Linked DNA regions of Homo sapiens: regions 2 and 3 are each linked to region 1. Evidence: promoter capture Hi-C in human tissues and cell types (Jung and others, 2019). All regions are on one chromosome and are shown on one strand. Each heading gives the region's core, a stretch centred on a gene start or on the middle of the fragment in contact. The rest is flanking DNA. Distances are from core to core; before and after follow the strand shown.

Region 1 (3,167 bases), core at 244-2,743:
ATACAATATTTTGTTTGTTTGTTTGAGACAGAGTCTCCAGCTGTCGCCCTGGCTGGTGGACAGTGGCGCAATCTTGGCTCACTGCAACCTCTGCCTCCCGGGTTCAATTCTCCTGCCTCAGCCTCCCGAGTAGCTATGATTACAGGTGCCTGCCACCATGCCTGGCTAATTTTTTGTATTTTCAGTAGAGAAGGGGGTTTCACTATGTGAGCCAGGCTGGTCTCGAACTCCTGACCTCAAGTGATCCACCTGCTTCGGCCTCCCAAACTGCTGAGATTATAGGCGTGAGCCACCGCGCCCGGCCTGGATACAATATTTGAGATGAACCTTGAATGATGAGAAAGGGTTAGCCATTTGAAAATCTGGAAGAAGAGTGTTTGAGACTGAACTGCAGAGGCCTTGAGGCAGAAGCTTGTGTGTTTGAGGAATAGGAAGAAGACTTGTGTTGCTGGATCTGAGCATCCAAGGGAGTGAACAAGGGGAAATGTAGCAAGGGAGATGGAGGAGAGGTAGGCAGAGGGTAAACTTGGCCAGAACCCAACCTCTAGCGAAAGCAAAGCATCTCGCTCTGATTAAGAGAGAATCAGTGAGGAGACTCAGCCAGGAGCCTGTCTCTGGCAGTGAAAGTCCCTACTGGAAGGAGCCTCCTGCTGTTTTAAATAGGAACTTGGAAAAAGAAGGTAAAGGGCTCCATCGATTTGCCCTGCAACCATGTACAGGTATCTACTTGCAATACGATCTAGTTCATGTTCTTGAGGATCTCATAGTCTAGTAAAGAAGTTTTTGGGCCATGCGCGGTGGTCACACCTATAATCGCAGCACTTTGGGAGGCTGAGGCAGGTGGATCACCTGAGGTCAGGAGTTCGAGACCAGCCTGGCCAACACCCCATCTCTACTAAAAATACAAAAATTAGCCTAGTGTGGTAGCGCATGTCTATAGTCCCAGCTACTTGGGAGGCTGAGGCAGGAGAATTGCTTAAACTCTGTCTCAAAAAAAAAAAAAAATAAGTTTTTGGGGCCAGGAGCAATGGCCCATACCTGTAATACCAACACTTTGGGAGTCCAAAGTGGGTAGTCGCTTGAGGTCAGGAGTTCAAGACCAGTCTGGCCAACATGGCGAAACCCTGTCTTTACTAAAAATACAAAAATTAGCTGGGCATGGTGGCACACGCCTGTAATCCCAGCTATTTGGGAGGCTAAAGCATGAGAATCGCTTGAACCCAGGAGGTGGAGGTTGCAGTAAGCTGAGATCGTGCCACTGCACTCCAGCCTGGGCAACAGAGCAAGACCCTGTCTTAAAAAAAAAAGAAGACGGAGAAGGAGGAAGAAGAAGAAGAAGAGGAATAGGAAGAGGAAGAAGAAGAAAAGGAGAAGAAGAAGAAGAAGAAGAAGAAGAAGAAGAAGAAGAAGAAGAAGAAGCAGCAGCAGCAGCAGCTTGTGGGCTGGGCGTGGTGGCTCTCACCTGTAATCCTAGCACCTTGGGAGGTTGAGGCAGGTGGATTGCTTGAGCTCAGGAGTTGGAGACAAGCCTGGGAAACGTGGTGAAACCCCGTCTGTACAAAAATCACCAAAAAAAAGAAAATTAGCTGAGCATAATAGTGCACGTGCCTGTAGTCCCAGATACTTGTGCGGCTGAGGCAGGAGGAGCACTTGAACCTGGGAGGTTGAGGCTGCAGTGAGCCGATATTGCATGCTGCACTCCAGCCTGGGTGACAAAGTGAGACTCTGTCTCAAAAAAAAAAAAAAAAGAAGCTTCTGATTTAAAATAGATCTCTAAATATACAGTATGAGTGATATAAGAAAAGGATAACAGGGTGTTCTAGCAGGAGAAGAGTGGGGTAAGTGAACCACTCTTTCGGGGGTATTAGGTATTTCGTGCTGGTCTCACTGAGAAGGTAACTGTGAAGGACCTTGAAAGATGAGTGGGTGTCAGGTGTGGTGACGCACACCTATGGTCCCAGCTACTTAGGAGGCTGAGGCAGGAGGACTGCTGGAGCCCAGGGGTTCAAGGCTATAGTGCACTATGTGCCTGTGAATAGCTACTGTATTCCAGCCTGGGCAATATAGTGAGAGCTCATCTGTAAAAAAAACAAGCAAACAAAAACTAAAGATGAGTGGGACTTTGCCAGATTGGCAAGGAGGCAGTAGTTTGTGGAAATATATATATATATTTTGAGACAGGGTCTCACTCCGTCCCCCAGGCTGGAGTGCAGTGTGCAGTCACAGCTCACCGCAACCTTGACTTCCCAGGCACAAGCGATCCTCCTGCCTCAAGCCTCCCGAGTAGCTGGGATTACAGTATTTTCTGGTGGTGGCGGGGGTCGTTTTTGTTTTTTGGAGACAAGATCTTGCTCTTTTGCCCAGGATGGAGTGCAGTGGCATGATCATGGCTCACTGCAGCCTCAACTTCCTGGGGCCAAGCGATCCTCCCACCTCAGCCTCCTGAGTTGCTGGGACTACAGGTGCATTCCACCTAATTTTTGTATTTTTTGTAGAGAGGTCTCACTATGTTGCCCAGGCTGGTCTCGAACTCCTGGCCTCCTGGCCTCCTGCCTCAACCTCTCAAAATGCTGGGATGACAGGCCTGAGCCACACCTGGCCTGGAAAGGCCTTTGGATCACAGAGGATTCTTTCCAGCTCATAGGTTTGCTGGACATTTCTCACCTCACTTGTAATTATTTGTTCAATGTCTATCTCCCGCATAAAAACAGGTCAGGGACTTTGTCTTGTTTATCTTTCTATCCCAGTATGCAGCACACAATAGGTGCAGCTGTTGAGTGAGTAACTATCCTCAAGAAGCTCTTCATGTGTTAGGTGCTCAGAGACGGGTTGCTCAGAGAAGGGGATTGTAACTAACCCAGACGAGGGTCAGAGTAGGCTTCTTGGAGGAAGTAGTGCTTGAGGTGTTTTGACAGAGGAGATTAACAAGGGGTGGGTAGTGGTGGAGGAGCATTCCAAGTAAAAGAAACGACATTTAAGGAGCCCAGGGCTGAAACTACACAAATGGAAGGGCTTGAGTGCCAATGAAAGTTAGGCTTTGGGGACAGCATGTGGAGATCCACTGGGGTTTCAATGGGGGAGTGACATGGCCAGATGTAATTTTAGAAAGCAGGCCAGGCACGGTGGCTCATGCCTATAAATCCTAGCACTTTGGGAGGCCGAGGCGG
Region 2 (3,167 bases), core at 314-2,813, 430 kb after region 1:
GCATGCATCAGGGAAAGATGTGATTGAGGACTTGAGTTCAAATTCTGGTTCTGCCACTGTGTGACCTTGGGCAACCTCTCTCGGCCTCAACGTTCTCAACTGTAAAATGGGAAGATGCCAATAAAAGAGGCCCCCACAGGGTGAATGCGGGGATGTCACATGAGAGAATGGCTGTCAAAGCACTTTGTAAAAGACAGATCGTTTGACAAATGGATGAGATTATTGACACCATCACAGCAAGAGGTTGGAAGGTAACTGCAGCTGGGGGAAAACATTGCCAGGCACCTCCAAGCACACACACACACGCATACACACAAACACATATACACACACTTCCTTGCAAGGACAAGAAATCCAACCAGACCAGGCCTGAAAAGCAGATAAGCAGACCCACCATGGGAATCAGAGGCATGGGAATCAAAACCACAGAATAGCCAGGAGAACGGGACATATCAGGGAGGAGAGGTGGCTGTGAGGGGCAAAGTGAAGGAGAGAAGACTGAAGTGCAAATCCATCTGATTAGCTGAAGCACCCTAGGGTGTGAACGCCGGTGACATCAGAGACCCTGTCACCTGAGGTCCCCCACCAACCAGACACAATGAAGGGAAGAGGAAGGGGAAGGGGGTGGCAACAGAAGGCAAGGCTAGCCAGAGGCTGACCACTCGCTCAGCTGGGCTTCCCCATCCTGAGAGGGCCTACCCAAGTCCAGCTTCTCAGAAAGGCGCACCCTTTCTTCTCAGAACTAGACACAGGGACCCGCGCCCCTGCACCCCGTGTCTCACCTGGTAGGGGTCACTATGGTGCCCCAGCGCCTCCGCTTCCGCCTGGGGTCCTCCAGCGGCTCTGCCAAGCAGGGAGAGGGGCAAGGAGACCTTTCCCCTTGCCACCTCTTCCTCGGCTTTCGCCCTTCCTGAGGGGCGGGCCCGGGAAGCCTCCCCTGGAGGGGAGGGGGTGACAACCTAATCTGACCTCGCGGTCCAGTCCTCCCCCTCGTCGAGGGCGACAGCTGCCGAATTCCGGATTTCTGATTGTGGGGTCTGAACCCCGAATATCTGAACGGGATGGAGACTGAATCCGATATTTGAACGCCCGGGGAATGAACCCCGGATACTGGTGCACGCAGGGGCCTGAACCTGATATTTGAAATTCTATGAAACAGAGACCCAGGTTTAGAGAGGTTGGGACCCGAGTCCCGGATATCTGGACTATGAGGACTGTTACCCGGGTATCTGAGAAAGGAGGAGGGGCAAAGCCTGGAAATTTGGGACCCAGGGGCCTGAGCTGTAGGTCTTCGGCCACCGACTGGGGGCCCACCCCGAGGACGTCCGGCCGCACGGCCCCTCTCACGCCGGGGTCCGAGGGTGACAGCCCCCACTCCCGCCCCGGCCTCCTCCCTCTCCCTTCTCTCTTCCGAGAATAGCTGAACGATTGTAGCTAAGGTGCTGCTGACGGTCCCCGCGCCCTCTCTGCCTCTCCTCTTCTCCGTCTCAGCCTCTCTCCGCACCACAGCCCCGGTCTCGTCCCGGTCTCCCTCTCCCTCTTCCTCCCAATTCCAAGATGGAGACCGGGCGGGAGCGCGCAGGCGCGGTAGGGACGCCGGGCTAAAGGGGGCGGGGGCGCAGAGGACTCAGCCCCGCCCTCTCTCCTCACTGCCGCGGCCTGGGAGACCGGCAGCCGCCAAGCCCGAGTGCGCGCCCGCCCCGCCACGCGGACCCCAGGCCGGAGGAGGCGGGGAGAAGAGCTAGACTTGCAAGGGGAGGAGCCCGGCACTCTGTCCCACGACTGGCGGTGGACAGAGCTGCAGCGCATGCGCTCGCCCCGCCTTCGCTCTGAGCCCGAGCTTGTTGCTAGGGGAAGCTTTGAGGGGGCGCGGGTGGACGGACAGCAGCGGCGATCTGCGACTGCGCGCAGGGTGGAAGTTGGGAGGGGCAAAGGAAGCTGCTGCTGGGCGCGGAAAAGGCGGGAAAATAGACTGCTCCGAGGTTAGCAACCATCTAACCTGGAAAAGGGCCTCCAAGTGCGAGGAATCTTTGCGCGTCGACGCTGGGAAAACTCAATCGGTCAAATCTCTTACGGAAATTGAGGCGCTGCAGGTTGCAAGACTTGCCAAGGTCACAGTGCATTTATGTCACAGCATTTCCATGACCTGACACCCCACCCGCCCAACTAACTGTAATTATCCATTTTATTTCGTAGAAGAAAACAAGACAGGTGTTTACCAAAGCCAAGTCAACCATGGGGAGAGCTCAAGTAACCTATGCCCTATGCCAACCTGTGTCCAAACTAGAGAGTCAACAGGAAAGAGTCCCCCAAAACTTCTAAGCCTGCCTACCCTAAAATCCCCACCTCAATCCAACCCCCAATAAACACCATACACGCCACTGGGCAAAAAAGCTTTTTATTTTCCCCCACATTCCAGCTCTTCACTTTTTCTAAAACCTTTTCCAACTCAGAGCCAAGGCCCAAGAAGTTGATTCACACCTGGGGAGAAAGAAAATAAAACAACAAAACAGGTCGAAGAGCTGCTAGAGGAAGCTCTGAGATGTGTGCAGAAATTGAGGAAGGAGCAGAGGGAGTGACAGCTAGAGACCAATACGGGCATTTAATCCCAACTAAGGTAGCCTCAGGACCCCAGGGTCTGTCAGGGGCCAGGAAGCCCTCCTTTCCCAGTCCAAGGTTGAGAGGGTCCTGTCATTTCCTGTCCCAAGTAGGTGGTTGGGGCATTTAGGCCCAGCCATCAGCAAAATAAGCACAGTTGATCTTGAGCTTCCACTTCCTCTGGCCTGATCAGTTCCCTGGGCCTCAACTATTTCCACTTTTCCCATAGTAACTTCCTAGGGCACTGCAGCCAGCTGAAGCTGAGACCAGTTCAAGAGCTGGATGCATAACACATGGCTCTCAAATTTCATGCACCCCCCTCTGACAAGTGAAGATTTTTTGCAGAAATATTTTTTCCTTTAGTGAGCTGATGTGTGAACTGGTTAACCAACATGACCCCCACCCACTGCTACGTTTGTGAAGCTGATTCCCTCCAAAGATCTTGTTAACGGAATCAGCTTTTTCTAAAGGTAACGATGACTAAATGGAAGACAGAAGGTGCATGTCAAGTTCTTGGGCACATACTATGTCCCCAGTAAATGAGTATCATCAGTTAGACTCTTCTGAGC
Region 3 (3,167 bases), core at 354-2,853, 390 kb after region 1:
TCTCGCCGCAGTCCCTGGAGTAGCTAGGATTACAGGCACCCGCCACCACTCTCGGCCCCATTTCTCTTATTTAAAAAAAAAAAAATTGCCGTGAAATACGCATATCGAAATGTACCATCTTCACCATTTTTAAGGGTAAGATTAGGTGGTGTTAGGTATGTTCAGTTGTCGTGCAACCAGATTGCTGTTTTAAATAACAGCACTTAGAGATGCCGACTTCGTGCCAGGCCCAGTTTGGGACATTAGGGACTCCCAGATGAATCAGCCGCTCCAGTGGAACTCCCTGCTGGTGGGGGAGGCACTGGCGAAGCGGTGCTGAGCCGAGTCCTGACGGCGCTGGAGCTGAGGGGCAGTGCGGGATGCCCCAGGAAGGCTCCTAGGAAGAGGGGACCCACGGTGACTTCCTAAGGAAGCGCGGTTCCCAGGTAGAGGAGCGCATGTGAGCCAAGATCCCTAGGCCTGAGCCGTCTAGGTGTGTCCCAGGAACTGCAGGAAACGGTTGGGTGAGTCAGTGGTGGGCAGCGAGGGTGATAAGCCCCTTCGTGTCTTCGGGATGGTAAGTTTGGGGCACAGGTGAGTGAAGACCGAAGGCCAGGGGTGGACTGACACTCCGTGGCAGGCGCAGGGCCGGGCAGGGGGGCGGCTTGGGGGTGGCAAGGTTTGGGTGAGAAATGGCAGCCCATGGGGAACTACCGCAGGGCTCTGAGACCTTCAGAGCCAAGCCCCGACGCCCCTTCCCACCTGCGGGGCAGAACTGGGGATGGCAGGGGGGAGGGTGGTTCCCAAAGGAGATACCATCCCTGGTAAGGGGACATGGGCCCCTGGGAGTTGGGTTGGGCCACAAGGAGAGAGGCCTGAACGGCCAAAGGGAGGGGGCGTGGGGGAAGCCGCAGCATCAGACCTCTGCCTCCTCCCTCAGATCGTGAGGCTCCCCAGCCTGGCTCGGGAGACCCCGAGATCCCCGGCCGGTGACAGCAGGCGACCCCCTGCTCCTGTCAACCTGTGGGTCCCTACGGACGTGGGGAAGGGAGGAGGGAGGCCCCAGCTCCCTGCGGGGGAGGGGCGTGAAGACGCGCGGGGGTGGGGGGAGATGAGCCGGCGTCGCCATGACAACGAGGCCGGTGGTCCGGCCTTGGGGACCCGGGAGGGAGGGAGGCGCCGTGGCCGCGCGCGCGGGCGGGGGCGGGGGGCCAGGTCTCCCAGGAGTAGTTGGGGAACACCCGGCGATTCTGGCGGCTGCTTCCTGGTGGCGCAGGGAGCCCGCGTGTTTGCGAGTGCGTGTGTGTGCGAAGTTCTCCGGGTAAGTGTGCCAGCGCGCGCCTGGGTGTGTGCAAGGGTGTGAGCGTGCACACGTGGGCACGGGCGTGTGCGCGCGGGGGTGCCCGGTTGGATGTGTGCACACGAGTGTGTGCCGGTCCGCGTGCCCCTGCGTGAGTGTGCGCGCGCGAGCACACGTGTGTGTGCGCGCTCGCGTGCGCTCCCGAGCGGGCCCCGGGTGGGAGTCCGAGATCCCGCCCCCTCCCCAGCCCCAGCGCCCCTCCCCGTCCCCCGCCGCCGCGCCGGCTGCATCCTCGCCTCCACCTCGCTCACCCCCTCCTCCCCGCACTTTCTCGGCGCTCCCTCCCTCTCGGCTCGCACAGCTCGACTCCGCGCTCTCCTCGCCGGCCGCCGCCGCCCAGCCTGCGCCCGCCGTCCCCCCAGTGCCTGGGCACCTGTTGGAGGCAGAGGCAGGTGCAGGGGGCTGGGCAGGCCGGGGGCGTGAGGGTGCGGGGAAGCGTGCCAGCCTGTGTGCGCTACGGGGGTGTTCGGCTCTCCTGCGGCTGCAATTTCTGGCTCCCCTGAGGAGCCAGAGGTGGCATCTGAGGCTGGGGTCTCCACCGTGGGCTGTGGTGAGCGAGCGGGGGAACCAGGCAGGCAGACAGGTCCTGGGGCTGAATGAGGGGACAGTGGGCAGTTGGAGCCTAGAGGGGTGGGTGACACCCTGACTAGACCAGCGCCTGGTGCAGAGGAGGACAGAGCCTCCGAGAAACAGAGGCGGGGCCCTGCAGGGCCCCTTGGGGGACAGGCAGGCTCAGGAGCAGAGGGGAGCCCCGGAGGAGAGGAAGGAGCTGGCAAGATGATACAGGGACAACCTAGAAGTGGGTGGGTGAGGACGGGGTGGTGCAACCTCGACTTCTGCAAGGAGTGGGTTGGCAGCCCAGCCCCTGTGGAGTCAGCTTGGGGTCTGCAGGGCCCAGGCCTCCCACCTGCCACCGGCTGGCACACACCACCCTCTCCCTCGACACCTAGGAAGGGAGGCCAGTGAGGGCCCCACAGACCGAGGAGGCCGTCGCCTGGCCCTCAGCCAGGATGGCTAGGTATGATGGGCTCACTGGCTCACACGCCCTCTCCTAGCCAGGGGTGCTGCATGAGGGGCCGCAGGGGCGATCGCATGACCATCAACATCCAGGAGCACATGGCCATCAACGTGTGCCCCGGGCCCATCCGGCCCATCCGCCAGATCTCTGACTACTTCCCCCGGGGACCAGGACCTGAAGGGGGCGGCGGGGGCGGCGGGGAGGCCCCCGCCCATCTGGTCCCCCTGGCTCTGGCCCCCCCTGCAGCCCTCCTTGGGGCCACCACGCCTGAGGATGGTGCGGAGGTGGACAGCTATGACTCGGATGATGCCAGTGAGTCTGGGGGCTTGGAGGCCCCATGTGCTGGTGGGGGTCTCCAGGCTTGCCGTGGTGGGGGGAGAGGGGGATGGGCCCTGCTGGCTGTGCATGTAGGTAGGGGAGGAGGGCAGTGGGGGGGTGGCAGGGACGGCCACCACAGCTGCAGTCAGCGTGGAGATTACAGCTTCAGCAAGGCTCAATATTCAGTATTTCTGCTGAGACACTCCACCACCCACACAGCCCCAGTTGCGGCCGAGCCAGGGACCCAGACGCACACACGCATGGGCCCACTCAGCCTCTTGCACTCACACTCGCGGGCTGGCAAGAGAGAGAGACACACAGAGCCAGTGCCCACCTGCTGGCCTCTCGCACACACCTGTCTCCATACCGACCCATGCTGCCTTTCCTCTCTCTCCAGCCGCCCTAGGCACGCTGGAGTTTGACCTTCTCTACGACCGGGCCTCCTGCACTCTGCACTGTAGCATCCTCAGGGCCAAGGTGGGCACTCCCTGC

Evidence for each region. Contacts are between HindIII fragments. The study calls those that stand out against the background at their distance.
Region 2: a contact is called between the fragment with the promoter of TAOK2 here and a fragment that was not itself captured in region 1, in 1 of the 25 tissues and cell types used here (dorsolateral prefrontal cortex).
Region 3: the fragment with the promoter of DOC2A here is called in contact with a fragment that was not itself captured in region 1 in 5 of the 25 tissues and cell types used here (IMR-90 fibroblasts, dorsolateral prefrontal cortex, lymphoblastoid cells and 2 more).

Annotation. Positions count from the first base shown.
Region 1 is chr16:30,401,536-30,404,702 of GRCh38, reverse strand. No RefSeq gene overlaps it. Among named protein-coding and RNA genes, the nearest start is that of ZNF771, 4.5 kb to the left of the region's middle. The HindIII fragment of the contact is 5,860 bases long and covers 1-3,167 here.
Region 2 is chr16:29,972,264-29,975,430 of GRCh38, reverse strand. It overlaps TAOK2 (TAO kinase 2), which reads right to left and starts at 1,563. Exons shown (of 16, transcript NM_016151.4): 1 at 783-1,563. TMEM219 (transmembrane protein 219) reads right to left here. Exons shown (of 6, transcript NM_001083613.2): 6 at 2,383-2,481. LOC124903762 reads right to left here and starts at 1,809. Exons shown (of 2, transcript XM_047435036.1): 1 at 1,651-1,809; 2 at 796-1,434. The coding sequence starts at 1,809. The coding sequence ends at 796. RefSeq lists enhancers at 473-602, 309-1,080 and a silencer at 1,504-1,873. The HindIII fragment of the contact is 10,689 bases long and covers 1-2,126 here.
Region 3 is chr16:30,009,463-30,012,629 of GRCh38, reverse strand. DOC2A (double C2 domain alpha) reads left to right here and starts at 1,603. Exons shown (of 11, transcript NM_003586.3): 1 at 1,603-1,727; 2 at 2,395-2,669; 3 at 3,073-3,152. The coding sequence starts at 2,408. RefSeq lists a silencer at 1,637-1,696. The HindIII fragment of the contact is 30,604 bases long and covers 1-1,763 here.